Regions from separate parts of the Homo sapiens genome. Here regions 1, 3, 4 and 5 are each linked to region 2. Evidence: promoter capture Hi-C in 16 types of primary human blood cells and fetal thymus (Javierre and others, 2016). All regions are on one chromosome and are shown on one strand. Each heading gives the region's core, a stretch centred on a gene start or on the middle of the fragment in contact. The rest is flanking DNA. Distances are from core to core; before and after follow the strand shown.

Region 1 (4,306 bases), core at 1,536-4,035, 1.0 Mb after region 2:
TTAGTCATCGTTTCCCTTTCCAAAGCATGCTGTAGGCAGTTGTAAAACCTGTGAAGAAATAAGTACTACTATTATATCTGTGTGTACTGAAACGAAATGACTGAAATACACCAAGAGCTTATAAGTTATGTAAATTTGACTATGTCCCATATTAGCTTTATAAATATAAATCAAATAAATAATATGTTTTATTAGGGAAATAAATGCATTTCAGTTCTTTAAGAACAGCCCTGAAAACTGGATTGGAATCACCTCTTGACAACCTCTGTCCTACCTCACTTTCCAACCCAAATGTAGGGGTCAAAGAAGAGGGTAAAAAAGAATGCAATTATTATTACATAAATGTAATGGCTCATTTTAGGTAATTTGTATAATGTGTGAGGTTACAAATACAGATCACCTCTACATAACTAGAAATAACTCCTCTCAATATTTTTCTTTTCAGTTTATTAATGTAGTCTGAATTAATGTATTTATTAATTAATCCATATACCTATTTGTCACAATTAGAATATTACATATAAAGTTTTACATTGTTTTTTCAAAGTTATTATTTATTGAGAGTGGCAGTACAACATTATGTCATCTAGATTGGCCTTTATTTACATTCAAATTTTCCCTGATACAAACAAAAATGTGGTAAGCATTTTTGAAAATGATGTGATGTGAGTTTTTAGCCATTTCTTTATATAGACACCTAGAAATATCATTACATCGTTAAAAGGCATAAACATTACAAGGCTCTTGATAAATACTGCTTGTTTTCACAATAGATATTCAAAGAAATACGCTTCTAATAGCTGCACTTGAGAGAGATCACTACACCTATACACTGAATATTCCCATCAAAAAACACATTCTACCTGGATGGGTGAAAATGATATCGCATTATTTTAACTTTCATTTCTTTGTAAGTAAAATACAATGTTTCTCATTTATTAGCTATTTGAATTTTTTAGTGTAAATTATTGTTTCCCTTTATTCATTTTTCTATTGGAGTTTTAGTGTTAGTTTTGTGATACAATAAACTGTAGGCTCTCTGAAAACCAGGCCTCATTTCTTTTCTACCCTCATGTTAACACCTAACACAAAACTCTGCTTGACACAGTAGCCTGCAGCAGGCAGCATAGCATGGTGTGTTGCATGCATTTGACACCAACATTCTTTTAGGAAAGGTGATGTCAGCTAATTCCAATTAATTTCCCACAGTCTTGATTTTTCACATTTATAAAGCTGGATATTATTATCCTGTAGCTATCAGGGTTGTCACAGGATTACAGATGATATATGTAAGTACCCAGAGAGTTAGTTATCAAAAATGACTACTTTTATGGAATATAGACTTCATGAGAGCAAGGATCCTATCTACCTGTCTCCTGTTATATTCTGAGCATGTAGTAGAGTGCTGGCATACTCAGTAAGACTATATTGAATAAATGAATGAATAACCCCAGAATAAAAATGTAACTATAAATGTGTTATCCTAGGTCTCAAATCAGAATGATCTGAAAGTTAGGAAACCCCCCTGCCACTGCAGAGATCTCATCTTACTTTTATGTCCTATTATAATGGGAGACTATGGCAAGAAATTTTTGATATCTACAGAATAGATCTCTATTTGGACCAATTTTCATCTTTGTTTGATTCAATAAACAGGCTAAGTTCTACTTACGAAGCCTATAAAACTCCAAAACTCCAAATATCCACATATTCCTAAATATGTCACCTAACTCTAATACATATACAACATGATGAGTACACATCCTGTCCATTTTCAAGAACTTATGCACTCATCACTGTACACCTTGATATCTAGTGCTGTGCTTGGCAAACAACAGATGCTCAATAAATATTTTTATCAATGAATGAATTAATCTCAAAAACAGACACAGAGTTAAATTTAAAAAGACTGAGATGCGTGACATACATAACTTTTTGGGCCTTGTTCCATGGTAACATCCTTTCACTTAATGCACCCTTTACATCCTTCCGTTACTGAAACCTGGCTCCCCTGTAGACACCATCTTCCATCATTCCTCCCAAGCGGAGACTGCTTATGTTTTCCATATCCTGCTACCACAGAGCTGAGAGATGAGGTCAGAATAAAACCGGCTCATCAACATTTTCCCAAATTCCTCCATCTGCCCCTCATGTCATCTACCAATAATGTTTGGTTCCTTACATTGATGAAAACTTCTATGCTTGACTTGATCTTTCTTTCTAGGTCTTGTCACCATCTTAGGTGATGTCAATGACTGGTATCCTTCTCATGTTCCACACAGCCTGTTCAGAATGACTTACATTAACGTTATCTAAAACATAAATCTGAGCATGCCACAAGATGGTGTGGCTCATCCTGATCATAAGACGCCATCCCTGTTATACAACCTCATCTTCTACCATTCTTTATCAACCCTGCACTTTAGGCTTAGGTAACTGAGTGTTTTTTTCTGGATTATACTTTCTTCCTAGAAAATGAAAGATAAGATTAAATTGCTCCTTTATGATCACCGAGAATTAACAGCTTGTGAAAAATGCCTCATCCATCACATTAAAAAAAAGTAATTAAAAAGGAATGTATGCCTTACTTTAATCAACCATTAAAGAACCTAAGAATTCAAAGCTATGTCCTTAGGGTACCAAAACAACTGGTAAAATGGAACAAAGATCCTTTCCTGAATAAAAACTTCAAATACTAGTTTTCCTTTCCCTTTTCTAAGAGAACTTTAAAAGTCCTTTGAGAAACAGTACTCAGTAAGTCAAAAGTTATGTTCTCCCCTTATACAGTAACACTTAAGCCTGATTTTCAAAAGTGCAATTTTCTGAACTCTCACAGGCAACAAAATGAGCTCTGAGATTTAAGGAAAAAAAAAAAAAAGTATGTTCAGGCAACTGTATTTTTTCTCTCCTTGAAAGAAAAGCAAATAGCCTTCAGTTTTTCTGCCTCTGCAGTCAAGATTATCATAGCATAGGACAACTTGTACTTAGTTCTCTTCATAAGTTTTCAGGCCAAGCCTGAGAAAATGAATTCTTGTTTTTCAACGTCAGTTAGAAAACCACTTTCAACAGAAAGCTGGAATTTCTCTAACTTCTCAAACAAAAACACAGAATTGAGGAAACTGAGGCACAATTTTATTTCCTTTAGGCTTCCATCATTCACAAATATCAAAGAAGGCTATTCTAATATGTATTTAGATTTTAACTAGCATTTTCTTTAAAAAACAACATGTATGTGACAGGCCAAGTGCCCAGTACTAGAAGCCCAGAGAAGTGGTCTGTGGTCTGTGCCCTCAAGGAGCTCATGGTTTAACAGGAGCTACAGAACTGTAAAGCCACATTTAACACACCATGAAAAAGATGGGACACAGTGCTCTAACTGAAATCACAAAATGCTCTCCGTTATAAGATCCAATGCCTGGGCTGAACTGCAAGGATGAATGGAAGCTGACAATGTGCTAAGAGAGGAATTAGGAGGAAAAAAGATGGGGGCATGGGGGATGTCCCAGGAAACACTACTAGAAAATAAAATATATGTTTTCGCTTTATATTATTTACTTATTTGGTCTTAAGTATACAGTTGACCCTTGAACAATATGGTTTTGAACTACACAGGTCCACTTACATGCAGATTTTTTTTGAATAAAAGCTACACCAAATATTCCTGCTTCTCCTTCTACCTTCTCTACCTCTTCTGCCTCTGCCACCCCTGAGATAGCAGGACCAACCACTCCTCTTCCTCAGCCTACTCAAGGTGAAGACGATGAAGACAAAGGCTTTTGTGATGATCCATTTCCACTTAATGAATAATAAATATATTTTCTCTTCCTTATGATTTTCTTAATAACATTTTTCTCTAGCTTACTTTATTGTAAGAATACAGTACACAATATATATAACATACAATACATGTGCTAATCAACTGCTTATGTTATGAATAATGCTTCCAGTCAAAGGTAGGATATCAGTACCTAAGTTTCTTGGGAGTCAAGTCATATGTCAGCCAGGTGCGGTGGCTTATGCATGTAATCCCAACACTTTGGGAGGCCAAGGCGGGCAATCACTTGAGTCCAGGAGTTTGAGACCAGCCTAGGCAACATGGCAAAACCCCATCTCTACAAAAAAATACAAAAAATTATCTGGGCTTGGTGGTACATGCCTGTAGTAACAGCTACTCGGGAAGCTGAGGTGGAGGATCACTTGAGCCTGGAAGGCGAAGGTTGCAGTGAGCCAAGATCATGCCACTGTACTCCAGCCTGGGTGACAGTGAGATCCTGTCTCAAAAACAACAACAACAAAAGCCATGTGG
Region 2 (4,229 bases), core at 233-2,732:
GCACAGCAATTCTCTGGGAGGTAGCAGAAAAACAGGGGCAAGTGGAATCAAGGAAGCCAAATTAAAAGAGTTTAAGAGAAGACCAGTCAAGAACATTAAACATAGGCCAGGCAGCAGTGGCTCATGCCTGTAATCCCAATGCTTGGGCAGACCGAGGCAGGAGCACTTGAGACCAGGAGTTTGAGACCAGCATGGGCAGCATAGCGAGACTCTGTTTCTAAAAATAAAGAAATTAAGAACATTAAATACAGCAGAAAGGTCACATGAGATGAACTGAAAAATGACCATTGGATTTGGTATTTGTTACTTTACCATTGTGTTGCAATCGTGTGTGAAAAATGGTGATGCTTTGTCATGAATAGAGACTAACAAAATAATAAATGATTTGAAGGACATGCATCTTTTTTGTTTGTTTGTTTTGAGTCAGGGTCTCACTGTGTCACCCAGGCTGAAATGCAGTGGCGCAATCTCAGCTCACGGCAGCCTCGACCTCCCGGACTCGCCATCCTCCCACCTCAACCTCCTGAGTAGCTGGGACCACAGTCACGTGCCACCACACCCAGATAATTTTTGTACTTTTAGTAGAGATAGGGGATGGGGGTGGGAGGTTCACCATGTTGGCCAGGCTGGTGTGGAACTCCCGGCCTCAAGTGATCCGCCCACCCTGGTTTCCCAAAGTGCTGGGATTACAGGCGTCAGCCACCGCCCAGCCCACTCTTTTAATACTAAACATATTATTTTCCCTGAATTAGATGAAATGTTCAATTTAATCTATTTTATCCCACCTTAGCAGGATTTGGAGAATTAAATTCAGCAGCCAAAGATCAGCTCACAACTTCTATCAGCAAACTCACGCACAAACTGTCATTTGTCAGACACTGTGAGGGACGTTATATGGGATACTTCAGCCTTTCTCAGAACTGAGCCATCCACAGTCAAGGTCTTGCAATAGAACCAATTTGAAAAGTCAAGGCTTCTAATCACCCAGACTCACCAAATTCCCAGGGCACTCAGATCTCACGCCCCAACCAAATCACAACTTCACTGTGGTAACCACCACCCACGTGCCCCCGAGCCTCCATGAACTGCCGGCCTCTAGCCTCAAGGAGACTCCTCCACCCAATCACTCCTTGCCTTGAGCTGGCCGGGAGTTTGGCGCGGGGCAGGGAAGGCTGCTGCTGCTGCTGCTCCGGTCGCCCGCAGCTCCTGACGTGCCAGGACAGGTGGATGCAGAGACCACCTGGACCGAAGGGCGGCTCTGTGGAGTCTCCTGGAGTCCGAAATTGTAGCGGGGACCCTGAGGTGAGCGGGTTTCTCCCGACGACGGGGAAACCGCCGGGGCAGAAGGCGAGGTTGATGAGATCTCAGGCCTCAGCATCCTCCCAAACCTTCCCTGACCCGAGAAGTATGAGGTTTCTGAGCGACCCCTCCAGTAGCCCAACTACAGAAGCTGCGCCGCTGAAACGGGCGGGAGAACTGCGCGCCGACGCACTAAGCTGCACTGCGCAGGCGCAGGCAGGCTCAGCTTTCCACATGGATTCACGTACTTCAGGTCTATGACCCTGCTTCCAGCCATTCCCAAACCCATCACTTTCCACATGAACCTCACTGGAACATCCTCAGCCTGCAGGTATCAGACTGACCAGAACTCTGCAAGGCCCATCAATGACCACCCGATTTGTTAGCCCCATTATTCTCACAGCACCCAATCTCCCTTATTGCAAATGTTACATGCATTTCCCACACGTCCAAGCACACTAGCTTATCTTTAAATGTAGAAACCACCCAACACAGTACACCCAGTGCCTTTGACACAATGAGAACGTGTAATGCTCACACAGCATAACCCACCTAAGGTTGATCTTGTGACCAAATATAGGAAAGATAGTTATATTATCAAAAGATAGTATGCACATGGCTGTGTGCATAGTAGAGTAGGAAACAGGGAAAGACTGACTGGGTAAGATCTCTCAGTTAACAATTCCCCATCTACCAATTTCTAGTACTGTGGTTTCTAACATATAAATCAGTTAATGGCACACTAGAAGTTCAAACTCCAGCTTTGCAGTGGTGACCTTTAGAAAATTCCTTAAATAAGGCCAATAGTACCAACTTACCAGAGATCCATGGATTAAACATGACGAAATTATCTGGATACTGCCATACAGAAGCTATTAGAAGACATTAATTTACACCACTACTGAAATCCTGCCACTGTTGAGTATCTCAATAAACCAGTTATGCACAGCGGTTTACCCACATGCAGTGACAACAGTCCTTAAGAACATCTCTGTTCTTGGAATGATTATTGCACAGGGCATTCCAAACATACTTGAGAAAAATCTCAATTTCCATCAAAAAACCTTATTTTCAGATCGGGCACGATGGCTCCTCCCTGTAATCCCAGTACTTTGGGAGACTGAGGCCAGAGGATTACTTCACCTCCGGAGACCAGCCTGGGGAAGACAGTGCCTGTCCCCAAAATTAAGAAATCAGCTGGGCATAGTGGGCATGGTGGCAGGTACCTGTAGACCCTGGTACTCAGGAGGCTGAGGTGGAAGGACTGCTTGAGCCCAGGAGTTTAAGGTTACAGTGAGCTGTGATTGCACTACTATGCCCCAGCCTGGGGAAGAAAGGAAGACCCTGTCTCTAAAAAATAAAATTTAAAAATAGAGAATACCTCACTTTCACCAAAACTGTAAACCCCTAGAGTGATTGTACTCATTTTAGGCCAGGCGTGGTGGCTCACGCCTGTAATCCCAGCACTTTGGGAGGCCGAGGTGGGTGGATCACAAGGTCAGGCTGGTCTCCAGCTCCTCAGCATGGTGAAACCCTGTCTGTACTAAAGTAACATAAAAATTAGCCGGGCATGGTGGTGTGCGGCTGTAGTCCCAGCTACTCGAGAGGCTGCGGCTGAATTGCTTAAACCCGGCAGACGGAGGTTGCAGTTAAGCTGAGATCGTGCTGCTGCGCTCCAGCCTGGGCAACAGAGATTCTGTCACAAAAAAATAAAAAAGAGTGATTGTACCCATTTTAGCTTTTTAAGAAAAAGACAGGTGCAAAAAAATACTGTGGTGACCATCAACTTACCCGTTAGTGTTTCCTTATTTGAAGACAACTCCTTCTTTGGGTAATTCTGATATATAAAATGCTAAAAAAAAAAAAAAAAAAAAAAAAAAAAAGGACAGTCCGAATCACAACCCCATTTTAAGATGGTAGATTGCCATTTAACCTAAGTCTGTGACCAATTCAGAATAACCATATTCAAACCTATCAATCATTTCCAAATTTCAACAGCCATTTATTTTGTGCATCATTTAATTCATGTATGGGTTCTATCCACTTTCATCAGTTAACATTCTTGTTGACAAACCAATTTACATCAACTTGCTATAGAACAGATGAAAGGTATACATGGGGGAAAAATCAAGTAGAAACCTAGAGTTATTTTATGTTAGCTCAGTTATTGAACATAACAGACACAGAAGTATACACAAAGAACTGTAGTCAGAATAACAGGACTTCAGAATAAAAAGCAGAAAATAAAATACCGGTCTTTATTTTACAATATGTATAATTATATAATTTATTAAAATTAATTTAACACAATATACAAAATATTAACAGTAGTCACTTTTAGATTCGATAAGCACTTCAAATACAGAAATGTTAAAATGGCAAAACTATACTATGCAACTTTCAATTCAATGAATCTAGCTCACTAGCTCAGGCTGAACATTCACTCTCTGAAGCACTTCTTCAGGCATGCAAAAGACAGGATTAACAGGTTTAATCTGTTCTTCTCCCAAAAGTGACAATCCAGCAATTCCAAATAAGGTATGAAAAGGATCCACCTATTTAAAAAAGAATTTATATACAGATCACAAAATGAAAACTTCTTTAACTTCAAATTATGAATACCTGACCTTTACCATATACTAATTTTGTTAGCAACAAGCGACAAGAAATTTCTGTAAGATTGTTCTATATCCTTCATACACTCTACAATAAATAGAAAAAAAAACTGCTTTCAAAGCAACACTCGGAATGCCACCCTGGAAATCCATGGAACCATGAAGTAATGCAAACGCTGAAATAATTTATAGAAATATGTCAGAAATATTACTTGCCATATCTCCTGGCCTGTCTGCAAATCCCCCCGTTTCTTCATCTTGACATGCTAAAATGAAATTACGCAGTTTCTCTCTATCAATCCAATGAAGTCTTCC
Region 3 (3,919 bases), core at 1,033-3,532, 1.4 Mb before region 2:
AGCTTACATTGTTTTGGGAAAGACAGACGATTAATACACATAATAAATAAGTTAATTATATATATAATGTAAGAAGATGATAAACACAGTAGAAAAAATAAATTATAGTAAGAAAAATGGTGGGGCGAGGTTGCAGTTTTAAATAATAGCCTTGTTAAATGTTGAACAAGCAGATTGTACGTTCTTAATTGAACATACATTCTACTTTCTTAATAATTCTCAGGGTACGGGAAATAGAAAGATATGAGTTATATAGTAAGTATGCTTTCATTTGAGTAATGCTAAATAATATTTTAAAGCAGAAGCTCTTGCACATATACCTTATAGTTCTCTAAAAGAGCCCTGTGATGTAGGATTGGCATTGCTTTCATTTTGCACATGAGGAAACTGAGTCTCCAGGGAGGTTAAGTATCTTAATCAAGGTTACTCTGTTTAATTGGTGTCTAAGCCAAGAATGAAACCCAGTTCTCCAGATTTCCAGTTCAGGACTTTTGTCCTTATAGTGTCTTAAGCAATAAGCTCTTTTGATTCTTTGTGTAGTCCATAATGACAAATACTGGAATCTTCATAAACTTACGTAAGATGATTGTTATTACAACTGTAAAAACTACACGAGTCTCAACTGTCCATTATCAGTCTTTATTCTGAGAAATTGTGCCTTTTTCTTCTATTTGTTTTGCTTTATTTAGGATCAAGCAGAACAATTCTTTAGAAGTGGCCATACAAACAACTGGGCTGTTCTGGTAAGTATACTGTAAAAGTATACCTTGCTGTTCACATTAGATATGTATCTGAGAAATTTGTGTGAATCAAATTTTTGAAAATACAATTTATTTTTTTACATTTTATATCAGAAATTCTTTATTTTGATTTGGCTATATTTTAAATTGACCACATCAACTATAATAATCTAGTAATATTCTTTGTCCTCAGAATATCTGTCAAGTGGTGATCTGAAAATAAATGTAAGAATAAATTAGGAATGCTATTGTTAAAGGAAACATTTTATAAGAGGTAGAAATATTTTAATGCTGGAAACTACTAATTGCATCTGTTATTTATAGTATTAGTTGATAGATACTTTCTACTTACACTTTTTAAAATTTTTTCAGTTGTTTTTTCTGCTTATAAAAATAATAAATGACCACTGTAGAAGTTCAAGTTATACAGAAAAGTTTAAAGAAGGCAGACTAATTTTGTTTTGTGAATTTCACCTCAATTAAAGAAGACAGGGAAAATGGCTTCAAGTCCCACATCCCAGAGTTAATATTTTGGTGAGCATTGTTCAAGCCCTTTCCCTCTTCATATATAAGCATAAAGATATATAGATATATGATTTTATATAATTGGGATCATATTATACCTGCTATTTTGCAACCCTTTAGTATTATCTTAGGGATCTTTCCCTGCCAGTAGGTATGGAGACATATAATCTTTTCCAAAAGCTGTATTTTCTTCTGTTTTGTGAATGTACTGTAACCTCCAGTTTATGGGCATTTAGAATCTAAATTTTTTGTTATTGTAAACAGGGCTGTGTTGAACATTCTTATACACATAACTCTGTGACCTGACTGATTTTCTCTTTAGGATAAATTCCTAAGTGTAAGAATGTGAAGTCATGGAGCATGATTGCCTCCAGAAAGACTGTGGGTCTTTTTCTAAATTCAAGTCAGCTATGTATTCTTAATTTTTATCTTAACTTTTTGACTGCTGGTCAACACATTACATTTTGTTTTAATTTGCATTGTTTTGATTTTTAGTAAGGCCTGCTTATTGGCCCTTTTTTTTTCTTCTGCCTTTTGCCCAACCTTAGTGTGAATTACCATCTTTAATTTTTCTGGATTCAGAAATTTGTAGTTTTAATTCCTCAAACAGAATTCACATAATCAAATTTGTTTTTCCTATGCTTGGAAAATATTTGGATAATAGTTTCATTACTGGAGTTTCATTTAATGGCATTTATATGATTAGAAAATATAATGTTGACTTAATGAAAAAACATGTACAAGGATTGGACTGGAAGAAACAATGGGGAAATAGAGAATAGGTTCAAAGAGGCAGGAAAGGAAGCTGATTTTGTGAAAAAGGGAGCAGAGAATGTACAGCATCTCAAAGCCAGTAATGCATGTTGGAAAAGGAAGAAAACTGGGGATTATAAATGGTAAGAATATAGTGGGAATGTAAAGGAGATGGATAGAGGAATTCAGCTTAAAGTGCAGAATAAACATGCAAGACTATAATTAACTTACTGACGCCAAATGAAGTTTGAGGCTTTGTAAATTTATTGAGAATCATTTGACAAACACATTTGATAAAAATATAGATAATGAATTATCTATAGGTTCCTATAAGTAAATAGGGTGATTCCAAGTTCTATACTTGTTTGTTTTAAATGTAATAGCATTGTGATTAAATAGGACAGTGTAACATGGGTCCATGGCTCATTTTCTTGTTCTTCAAGAAAAAAACCTCTTATATATGCTACCCTTCACAAGAAATTTTTCTGAAGTTACTGAGAAAAGACTGCTAAAGATAAGGAGAGAGGATTTCAATGCCTACTTAAAAGTAAGGAGAACTATTGGGAGCCAGGCCATCATCTACCAATTTGACAGGATAAACTTTTTCTACAGGAAACTAGGAGCCCCTCCATGTTCAAGAGGCAATAACTGCCTATGTGCAGACCACCAATTGCAAAGGGCTTATCTTTTGGAACTAAAATACTGTTAGCTTATACTGACACACATATGAAAGCCTTCCTTGCTCTGGGAAACCTCTAACCAAACCTCTCTTCAATTTCAGTAACCTGGTAAAAAATAAAAGATGAAAAAGAAACATTACTGAGCATTGTATTACAACTACAGTTTTCTTTTTTTTGTCCAATATTTTACATATTAGTATAGTGAAACTTTAATAAATTATATTTTATTTTTTAAAATTAAAAAGGGAGTTTTTGGAGATGAGGTCTTGCACTGTCTCCCAGGCTGGAGTGCAGTGGTGTGATCATAGCTCACTGTAGCCCTGAACTCCTGGGCTCAAGTGATCCTCCCACGTCAGCTTCCCAAGTAGCTAGAACTACAACCACAAACTACCACTCCTTGCTAAATTTTACATTTTTTTTTGTAGAGATGGGGGTCTCATTGTGTTGCCTAGGCCGTTCTTTAACTCCTAACCTCAAGTGATCCTTCCATCTTGGCCTCCCAAACTGCTAGGATTATAGGTGTAAGCTACTGTGTCCAGCTAGAATTTTATGATATTTTTGATATATGGAATTTTACATTTTTATATAGTCAAAAATTTAGTCTTTTCCTGATTGGATTCTAGGTTGAAAACTTAATTTAAAAAAAAACCATGTAGTTCCTTTCTGTTTGTCAGGGGCAAGAACACTTATGCTGTTCTCAAAATTGTCATTATACCTACTAAAGGCACAGGCATGTGATAGAAGCCGGGATTGTACTTGGTAGATATATTACCAAGTGACCCCAATCTATATTTACCTACCTTAGAATGGGTTCTGAACAACACTAACTTTTGAGGCATGGAATTAGATTTTCCTAGCACCTTTAATATAATTCTCAGGAATTTTTTTAAACTATAAAACTTGGTTGGATTGTTTCTAATTTTCTCTTGAGTTCAATAGCTTCTTTATAATGCACTCTCTTATGTACATTTACAACTGTTTTATATGTTATGTTTTATCCTGTGTCCTACGTTTCTCACAATAAAGGAAGCAATGTGGAATGAAACAAATATTGTATAACCCTATGTAGCTAATTTTCTTCTCTATTCTGTGAAGAAATTATGGGCATTGTCTTTGATTCTAAAGAATTTAATTTTTTAGAAATAGGAATGTTACTGAGTCACAGAAATTGTGATAACTAAGTTGGTTCAGTATTTGATTTAATTTCCCAAAGATATGCTT
Region 4 (4,078 bases), core at 1,363-3,862, 1.3 Mb before region 2:
GTATTAGGTTGTTCTTGCACTGCTATAAAGAAATACCTGAGACTGGGTAATTGGCTTATTGTTCTGCAGTCTGTACAGGAAGCATAGGGGTATCTACTTTTGGGGAGGCGTCAGGAAGCTTCCAATTATGGTAGAGGGCAAATGGGGAACAGGCACATCATATGGTGAGAATAGGAATGAGAACCGGAGCAAGTGTAAGTGAGCGGGGCAGGGGGGTTGGGGGAGAGTAAGAGAGTGAGAGCAAGAGAGAGAGGGAGGGAGGAAGGCAAGGGTTTGGGAGAGAGTGCAAGAGAGAAAGAGTGAGTGAGTGTGAGCATGCACTGGGGAGGTGCCACACACTTTTAAACGACCATATCTTGCGGGAACTCACTCACTATGGTGAAGACAGCACCAAGCCATGAGGGATCTGCCCTCATGACCCAAACACCTTCCATCAGGCACCACCTCCAGCATTGGGGATTACAGTTCAACCTGATATTTGAGCAGGGACAAATATCTAAACTATATCAGATATAAAAATACAGCTTGAATTCAGTAGCCTTTGGCATTCATAGTTTCACATTTCATTAGAAGGAAACATTTCTCAATAAAAGAACACCCTGTAATATTAGAATGAGATACAACATTTCACTTTCTCGGAACAAAAAATTAATGTAAATGAGTTTAGAGGGATGGTTTGAAGTTAATAATAAAGAATAATCAATTGACTTCACTTTTGTAATGTTGCTGACAGGATTTTTCTGAAAATTATTCCGTTACAAGATACCTAGATGCACTATAAATTATATTTTAAAAAGATCTTTTTAAATGCTTAGCTGAGCTGCCAAGAAAGTAAGTGTGTAGAGACAAACAACATTTGATGAATAGCATTGCTGGCTTCTTCCACATTGAAGCAGAGCTGGTGGCACCCCCTCATTCAGTGGTAAGGACTACATGGGTTCTACTTCCTACAGTGTTTCTAGATAGTAACAGCTGGTGTTCTAAACATGCAGCTTCCCTGAGCAGTTGGCAGCAAGCTCAGACTGTCTCCTTTTGCAAGGACAGTATAGATTTACTTTAAAAAGCGGGAGTGTCTATGGGAGCCCTTTCTTGCTTTAGGGCTCTCATGTGATTTAGGGTTGTAATTTCCTCCTTGATCCAACCCATGGTGTTTCCAGCTGCACCTTCATCTAAAGAAACCTTTACAGGGGACTGTGTGACTTATCCTGCTATTGGTCTTTTTATCTAGTAGCAGAAAGTATTCGCAGGAGCCTATTGCTGAACAGTGGCTTGCAACAGAGGAAGCTCCACTTTGCTCAACAGTAGGGAAATCTCTTGGGAAAAAACACATAGACGCTAAAACTCAAGTGCCGAATGAATGTGGAAGGCAGGACGGCCTAACATGTACTAATATAGAAACCTAGAGTTTTGAGTTAGAATGGCTTTGTGTGAGGGTTAGGAGAAAAGACTGTGGATCCATTTGTTGACAGTTGAGCTTAAGACCTCTACATAAAACCATTAACTTCTAAGGCTTTACCCTCAATCAGAGAGTGGGCTGGAATAAAATCTAACAGCCTGAGGGGAAGAAAATGAGGACGTTTCTCTTGCCTTGGCTAGAGATATGGGGGTAAAAGAGGCTTCCCTGGGAATATGTAATCAGTCATACTCTCATGTGATTTAACATGGTTAACCTTCTTGGCCCAAGAAATTTAAAGTTGAGCAATTCAGTTGAAGTGATACTAGATTGATAGTAACCCAAAGCAAGACAGAAGCAAACTCAAATTCGATTTAGGAATCATTCTCAATTGAGGTTCCTCAGGATCCTCACGGATTAAGGTGTTCATGTTCTTAAATTACAGACAATTTGAGAAAGCAAGCTAATCCCGTGAGAGTATTAGTTTTCTACTGCTGTATAACAAGCTACCACAAACTCAGCAGTGCAAGACAACACCCATGTATTATCTCACAGTATCTGTAGGTTGGAAGTGTGCGTACAGGTTGGCTGGGTCCTTTACCTAAAGTTTCACAGGCTGAAAAAGACCACTTGATACTGTGGTCTCATCTGAGGCTTGGCGTCCTCTTCCAAGCTCACTCATTGTTGACAAAATTCAGTTCCTTGCACATGTAGGGCTGAAATCCCATTTTCTTATGAGTATTAACCAAACACTATCCATAGCTTCTATAAGCTGTCTTAGGTCCTTGCCTCATGGCCCCTCCAAAGGCAGTTCACAGTATGGCTGTTTGTGTCTTCAAAGCCTGCAGTAGAGTCTCTCCTATTTTCAATCTGTCTAACTTTAGGAAGGGCATGGTCCTTTTAATGGTTTGCCTGGTTAGGTCAAGCCCATTCAGGACAGTCTCCTTCTGATTAACTAAGTGTGAACTGATTTCAGACCTTAATTATATTTGCAAAATTCCCTCACTTTTGTCATATAACATAACCTTATCATAGGAGTGAAGTTTATCTTATTCACAGTCCTGCCTATTCTCCAGGAAAGTGGACAATACAGGGCATATGAACACCAAGGGATAAGAATCTTGAGGGTCATCTTAGAATTTTGCTTACCACAATACAGAATAATCAGGAGAATTAGACCTACAAGAACATTAGATATATGACTTATCAATTACAAAATACAAAATAACCATTTAAATTATTTTTTGAAATAAAAGGGGCCAGGCGTGGTGGCTCACTCCTGTAGTCCCAGCACTTTGGGAGGCCGAGGTGGACAAATCACTTGAGGTTAGTAGTTCACGACCAGCCTGGCCAACATGGTGAAACCCCGTCTCTACTAAAAATACAAAAATTAGCCGGGTGTGGTGGTATGCACCTGTAATCCCAGCTACTCGGGAGGCTGAGGCAGGAGGATTGCTGGAATCCAGGAGGCGGAGGTTGCAGTGAGCCAAACCAAGATTGTGCCATTGCACTCCAGCCTGGGTGACAAGAGTAAGACTCTGTCTCAAAATAAAATAAAATACAAATAAAAGAGGAAAATAAGATAAAATAAAAACAAAAGAAAGAAATGAAGGATTACACAAGGATTACATGATAAAGAATGATGAGGCATATTTGGAAAAGGCCAAATAGACTTTCATATTTGTAAACCACAATTATTCAAATTAAAAATGTAATAAACAGATTAAATAATAGACATATTATTGAGGTATTGATGCATCACAAACCATTCCAAAACTTAATGTCTAAATAACAACCACATATTTAGCTTTTGATTCTGAGGGTTGACAATGTAGGATGGGCTCAACCTTCATGGTTCTTCTAGCTTATGTTGTGCTTTCTCAGAATTTGTCATCTTTGGGTTGAGTGAGTGACTTCTGATTTTGGCTATACTATCTCACATTTCTGGGGCTTTTGATGTTGATTCAGCTCCCATGTGGTCCTTTATCCTCCAGGAGGTTATCCATGGGTCCCAAAAGCATGCAAGACGTTTTGTGGCCTAGATTTGAAACTGGAGCCCTGTTATTCTTGCTGCATCCTATTGTGCAGAAGGAATCACAAATCCAAGTAAAATTCAAGGGCTGGAAAAGCAGACTGTATCTTTTCTTAGAAGGAGCTACAAAGTTGTATCTCAAAAAGGTATGAATAGATACAGGAAAGAGTAAAAGATTTTAATGATTTTTGTAAGATTTCTCATACCTGAAAGGAGAATTAGTAAAATAAGATAGATCTAAAGAAATAACTCAGTATGAAATATAGACAGAGAGATGGAAAGTGTTAGGACAGGTTATGAGACATGAAGATAATATTGGAAACTGTTAGCTATGTCTAATTAGAGTTCCAGGGAGAAGAAAATATAGAATGAGCAAAAGGCAATATAAGAGATAATGGCTTATACTTTTGCATTTTGAAGGTAGTTCAACAAATCCAAAGCACAATACAGGGAGTATATACTTCATGTGAACATTTTAGAACTCCCTAAGTACATAAGAGATTTAAAAATCAGTCAAAGAGAAAAATGGCATCTACAATGGGTAACAACTAAGTTGACAGCAAACATCTTTTTTTTTTTTTTTTTTTTTTTTGAGACGGAGTCTCGCTCTGTCGCCCAGTCGCCCAGGCTGGAGTGCAGTGGCGGGATCTCGG
Region 5 (4,218 bases), core at 896-3,395, 1.1 Mb after region 2:
TTTACAAATTGGATAGAAGCTTTCCCCTGCAAGACAGAGAAGGCTCAGGCAGTGATTAAAGTCCTAATTTATGAAATAATTCCTAGATTTGGGCTTCCCCAAAGCTTACAGAGCAACAATGATCTGGCTTTTAAAGCCATGATAACTCAGGGACATTTCCAGGGAGCTAGGGATACAATATCACCTTCACTGTGCCTGGAGGCCACAATCCTGAGGGAAGGTCGAGAAGGCAAATGAAACACTCAAGAGGCACTTAAGAAAACTAACACAAGAAACTCATCTCCCATGGCCTACTCTTTTGCCCATGGCCTTGTTGAGAATCCAAAATTGTCCTCACAAAATGGGGCTCAGTCCCTATGAAATGCTGTATGGAAGAACTTTTCTCACAAATGAACTCCTACTTGATCAGGAAATGGCCAACTTGGTCAAAAATATAACTTCTTTGGCAAAATATCAACGAAACCTTAAAAACCTACCTGAAGGATGTCACAGAGAAAAGGGAACAGAGTTGTTTCAACCAGGAGATCCAGTGTTAGTCAAATCTCTCCCCTCTACCTCCCCATCTATAGATTCTTTGTGGGAAGGACCATACTCGGTAATCCTCTCTACCCCCACTGCAGTTAAGATGGCAGGAGTGGAATCTTGGATTCACCACACCCCAGTTAAATTTTGGACACCCCCGGAGGAACCTGCGGGACCATCAGCTCAGGAGTCCCAAGATCAGCCAGACCAGCCTCGATACACCTGCGAACCATTGGAGGACTTGCATCTCCTATTTTGGAAGGAAACATCCCAGACTAAAAAGGCTCTTACCTCTGATCCTGAGGAAAAACCCATTCCTCCTTAAAAAATATAAGTGAAAACCTACATAATCTTTAACACCTCTCTTTACCCCTTTAATGGAATCCTTTTACTATTTCATCATATTTTCTAGCAGCATACTAACCATACTCTTTGTGATAGGACTATATACTGTAGCCAAACGAGCTCAACTAACAACTTCTACCGAGGACCCCTGGACGGACCCACTGGCCCTTTCACTGGTCTAAAGAGTTCCCCTCTGGAGGACACTACAACTGCAGGGCCCCTTCTTCACCCCTATCCAGCAGGAAGTAGCTAGAGCCGTCATCGCCAAATTCCCAGCAGCAGTTGAGGTGTCCTGTTTAGAGGGTGGATTGAGAGATGAAGCCAGCTGGACTTTCTGGGTCAAGTGGGGACTTGGAGAACTTTTCTGTCTAGCTAGAGGACTGCAAATGCACCAATCAGCACTCTGTAAAAACGCACCAATTAGCGCTCTGTGTGTAGCTAAAGGACTGTAAATGCACCAATCAGCACTCTGTAAAAATGCACCAATCAGCGCTCTGTGTCTAGCTAAAGGATTGTAAACGCACCAATCAGCACTCTGTAAAAATGCACCAATCAGCGCTCTGTGTCTAGCTAAAGGATTGTAAACGCACCAATCAGCACTCTGTAAAAACGCACCAATCAGCGCTCTATGTCTAGCTAAAGGATTGTAAATGCACCAATCTGCACTCTGTAAAATGGACCAATCAGCTGTCTGTAAAAGCGACCAATCAGCAGGATGTGGGTGGGGCCAAATAAGGGAATAAAAACTGTCCACCCGAGCCAGCAGCAGCAACCCACTTGAGTCCCCTTCCAAGCTGCAGAAGCTTTATTCTTTCACTCTTAATAAATCTTGCTGCTGCTCAGTCTTTGGGTCTGCATTACCATTATGAGCTGTTAACACTCACTGTGGAAGTCTGCGGCTTCATTTCTGAAATCAGCAAGACCACGAACCCACTGGGAGGAACAAACAACTCTGGACATGCCACCTTTAAGAGCTGTAACACTCACTGCGAAGGTCTGCAGCTTCACTCCTGAAGTCAGCAAGACCACGAACCCACTGGAAGGAAGAAACTCCGGACACATCTGAACATCTGAAGGAACAAACTCCGGACATACCATCTTTAAGAACTGTCACACTCACTGCGAGGGTCCACGGCTTCATTCTTGAAGTCAGCGAGACCAATAACCCACTGGAAGGAACCAATTCTGGACACACTTCAACTTCAGCACACCCCATCTGGATAAAGGCGACTACCATACAGCTAGGGGCTCCAGCCAGACCTAAGTAGTTATCCTTGATTCCTCTTTCTCCTCCTCCCTCTGGCTGTCCTTCCCCAGACAACCTTACAATTCTGTTGATTCAAATGCTGAAATACATATTGAATCTATTCCTTTCTCACCTGCTTTGGTGCTATCACCTTACACCAACCTATCACCACAAACTACTCCTAACTCGTATCTTTTCACTTACTGCACTCCTTTCTCTATGCTGAAGCAGAACTGAGTTTTTCAGAACAAAAACCTAGAAAGCCACTCTTTGCTTAAAACTGTCCCTTCAATAACTTTTCCCTGAACTCAGAAAGAAATTCAAACTCTTTAATCTGGTCTACAAAGCCTTAAATGACCTGGCCCCAGCCTCCTTCTGGCACCTTCTTTCCACTCTCTAGACCCACTGAAACTTTGTATATACTTTTCCATCTTCATGGAATGTTCATTTCCCAGCTACATGCCTAGCTCTTTCTGTTCCTTTAAGTCTTAGCTTAAAGAAAGCTTTTCAGAGAAGCCTATCTTCAAGTGAGCTGCTTTTTGCACTGTTCTCTATTACCAGGTTGTTTTTTCCTTCGGTAGAACATTTTGCAACTTGCAGTTTGTTTTTTGTTTTTTTGCCAGTTCACTTGTTTGTTTTTGCTGTCTCCTAACTTTGGAAGAGGAACCAAGACAGTCTTTAATCTTGTTCATCACTGTGCCCCTAGTACTTGACACACTGAGACTCAATACATTATTGTTGCTTAAAATGCAATTCAGTTTTATATATAAATATATAAAAGGTATAAAAAGGAGAATCAAGACTAAACAGATGTTTACCTCATGCATGCTCATTTAAATGGGAAAAATGAAATATTCTTTAAAACTCTTAATTTTACATGTAGTTCCACAGTATTTTTTCTTAAAGCTTGGCAAACAAAAACAAACTATAGAATGCTGAAGTAAAATTTATAAATAAAAACGTTAAGAAAGAAAACAGGAAGCATAACCTGGGACTTATATTTTCCTAGCAATGATTAGCTACTCTTTTTTTCTAATATTAAAAATTAATAGATTGAGCAGACCAATAAATAATATATACATAACTAGTTGAATAAGGTAATATCTCATTGATATTTATAGCAGGTTAAAAGCTTAAAATTACATCTACCCACATATCTATAAATTCAAGTACAATTACAACAAAATTTTACCAGAATCTGTGCATCCTGCAATTGTCGACACTGCACATGAAGAACAAATGGTTCAAATTTCAAAGTGGCATCACCATTTGCTTTCTTCAGAGCTACAATCTAAATAAATGAACAGTGGTATCAGATGCAAGTATATGGCCTGTCCTTTGGCGACCCTTTACCCCATACATAACTTCAATTTCTCTTAGAAATTTTCAGAATCACTCAGCATATTTTTTCTGCAGTAACTTTTCCCTCTGCTTTCTTGGTCCTTTTTCACCAAAAATTTATTTGCTTATTTTCTTAAAATTTCTAGTTCTCCCGTAAATCTTCTATACCATTCTTTCCACCTATTAGTGTGCTTTGAAGAAGTAAACTACTACTTTATTTAATTCCATAACGGATTTTTCATTAGGAAATGTAGTATACAAAAACTGTATTAGGATTGTTTAAATTTTTTGTTAGATTGAGATAGAGACAAATGTAATGTGAGAGAAGGGTCCAAACAAAGCCTAACTGCCACCCATGTTCCCAAGAAGCATCCTGTACCAAGCACCAGTGCTTACCAGCAGCACTAGTAAGCTCACAAATAGCAGTGCATGCAAAGAGCTCAGAGCACAGCCAGTGAGTTCCTGTTCCCTCTGTAACAGGCACAGTTGTTGTAACAATTGCAACTTGCAGTTTTTTTGTTTGTTTTTTTTTCCCTGTTCACTTGTTTGTTTTTGCTATCTCCTAACTTTGGGAGAGGAACCTTGGAACTGCTCAGCTACATGAGAACCAATGGCCCCTGAGCACGTTCCTAGCTTTCTGTATTTCAGACCCTATGGGGCAGTGTTCAGGGTCTGGGAGCTACTGCAGCACAAAGTGGGGTACATGCCATCACTCTGCCCTGATCAGCTGTGGAACCAATCTGCTAGCCATGGGGACTGACACA

The links. Contacts are between HindIII fragments. The CHiCAGO score rates a contact against its expected background, and 5 or more counts as called.
Region 1: a fragment that was not itself captured here is called in contact with the fragment with the promoter of MSH4 in region 2 in 1 of 17 cell types (M2 macrophages); the score reaches 5.9 in M2 macrophages.
Region 3: a fragment that was not itself captured here is called in contact with the fragment with the promoter of MSH4 in region 2 in 3 of 17 cell types (total CD4 T cells, naive CD8 T cells and activated CD4 T cells); the score reaches 6.1 in total CD4 T cells.
Region 4: a contact is called between a fragment that was not itself captured here and the fragment with the promoter of MSH4 in region 2, in 7 of 17 cell types (fetal thymus, total CD4 T cells, M0 macrophages and 4 more). The highest score is 8.6, in fetal thymus.
Region 5: a fragment that was not itself captured here is called in contact with the fragment with the promoter of MSH4 in region 2 in 1 of 17 cell types (M1 macrophages); the score reaches 6.0 in M1 macrophages.

Annotation. Positions count from the first base shown.
Region 1 is chr1:74,759,636-74,763,941 of GRCh38, reverse strand. It overlaps TYW3 (tRNA-yW synthesizing protein 3 homolog), which reads right to left. Exons shown (of 6, transcript NM_138467.3): 6 at 1-48. Among named protein-coding and RNA genes, the nearest start is that of TYW3, 29 kb to the right of the region's middle. The HindIII fragment of the contact is 5,911 bases long and covers 1-4,306 here.
Region 2 is chr1:75,794,135-75,798,363 of GRCh38, reverse strand. It overlaps MSH4 (mutS homolog 4), which reads right to left and starts at 1,482. Exons shown (of 20, transcript NM_002440.4): 1 at 1,135-1,482. The coding sequence starts at 1,378. RABGGTB (Rab geranylgeranyltransferase subunit beta) reads right to left here. Exons shown (of 9, transcript NM_004582.4): 8 at 4,131-4,229; 9 at 3,278-3,854. The coding sequence ends at 3,714. The HindIII fragment of the contact is 6,934 bases long and covers 1-4,229 here.
Region 3 is chr1:77,207,260-77,211,178 of GRCh38, reverse strand. PIGK (phosphatidylinositol glycan anchor biosynthesis class K) reads left to right here. Exons shown (of 11, transcript NM_005482.3): 2 at 690-743. Among named protein-coding and RNA genes, the nearest start is that of PIGK, 10 kb to the left of the region's middle. The HindIII fragment of the contact is 4,556 bases long and covers 5-3,919 here.
Region 4 is chr1:77,136,476-77,140,553 of GRCh38, reverse strand. All of the region lies in intron 9 of PIGK (phosphatidylinositol glycan anchor biosynthesis class K), which reads left to right. Among named protein-coding and RNA genes, the nearest start is that of MIR7156, 78 kb to the right of the region's middle. The HindIII fragment of the contact is 4,984 bases long and covers 121-4,078 here.
Region 5 is chr1:74,737,876-74,742,093 of GRCh38, reverse strand. TYW3 (tRNA-yW synthesizing protein 3 homolog) reads right to left here. Exons shown (of 6, transcript NM_138467.3): 3 at 3,306-3,404. Among named protein-coding and RNA genes, the nearest start is that of TYW3, 6.8 kb to the right of the region's middle. The HindIII fragment of the contact is 946 bases long and covers 1,673-2,618 here.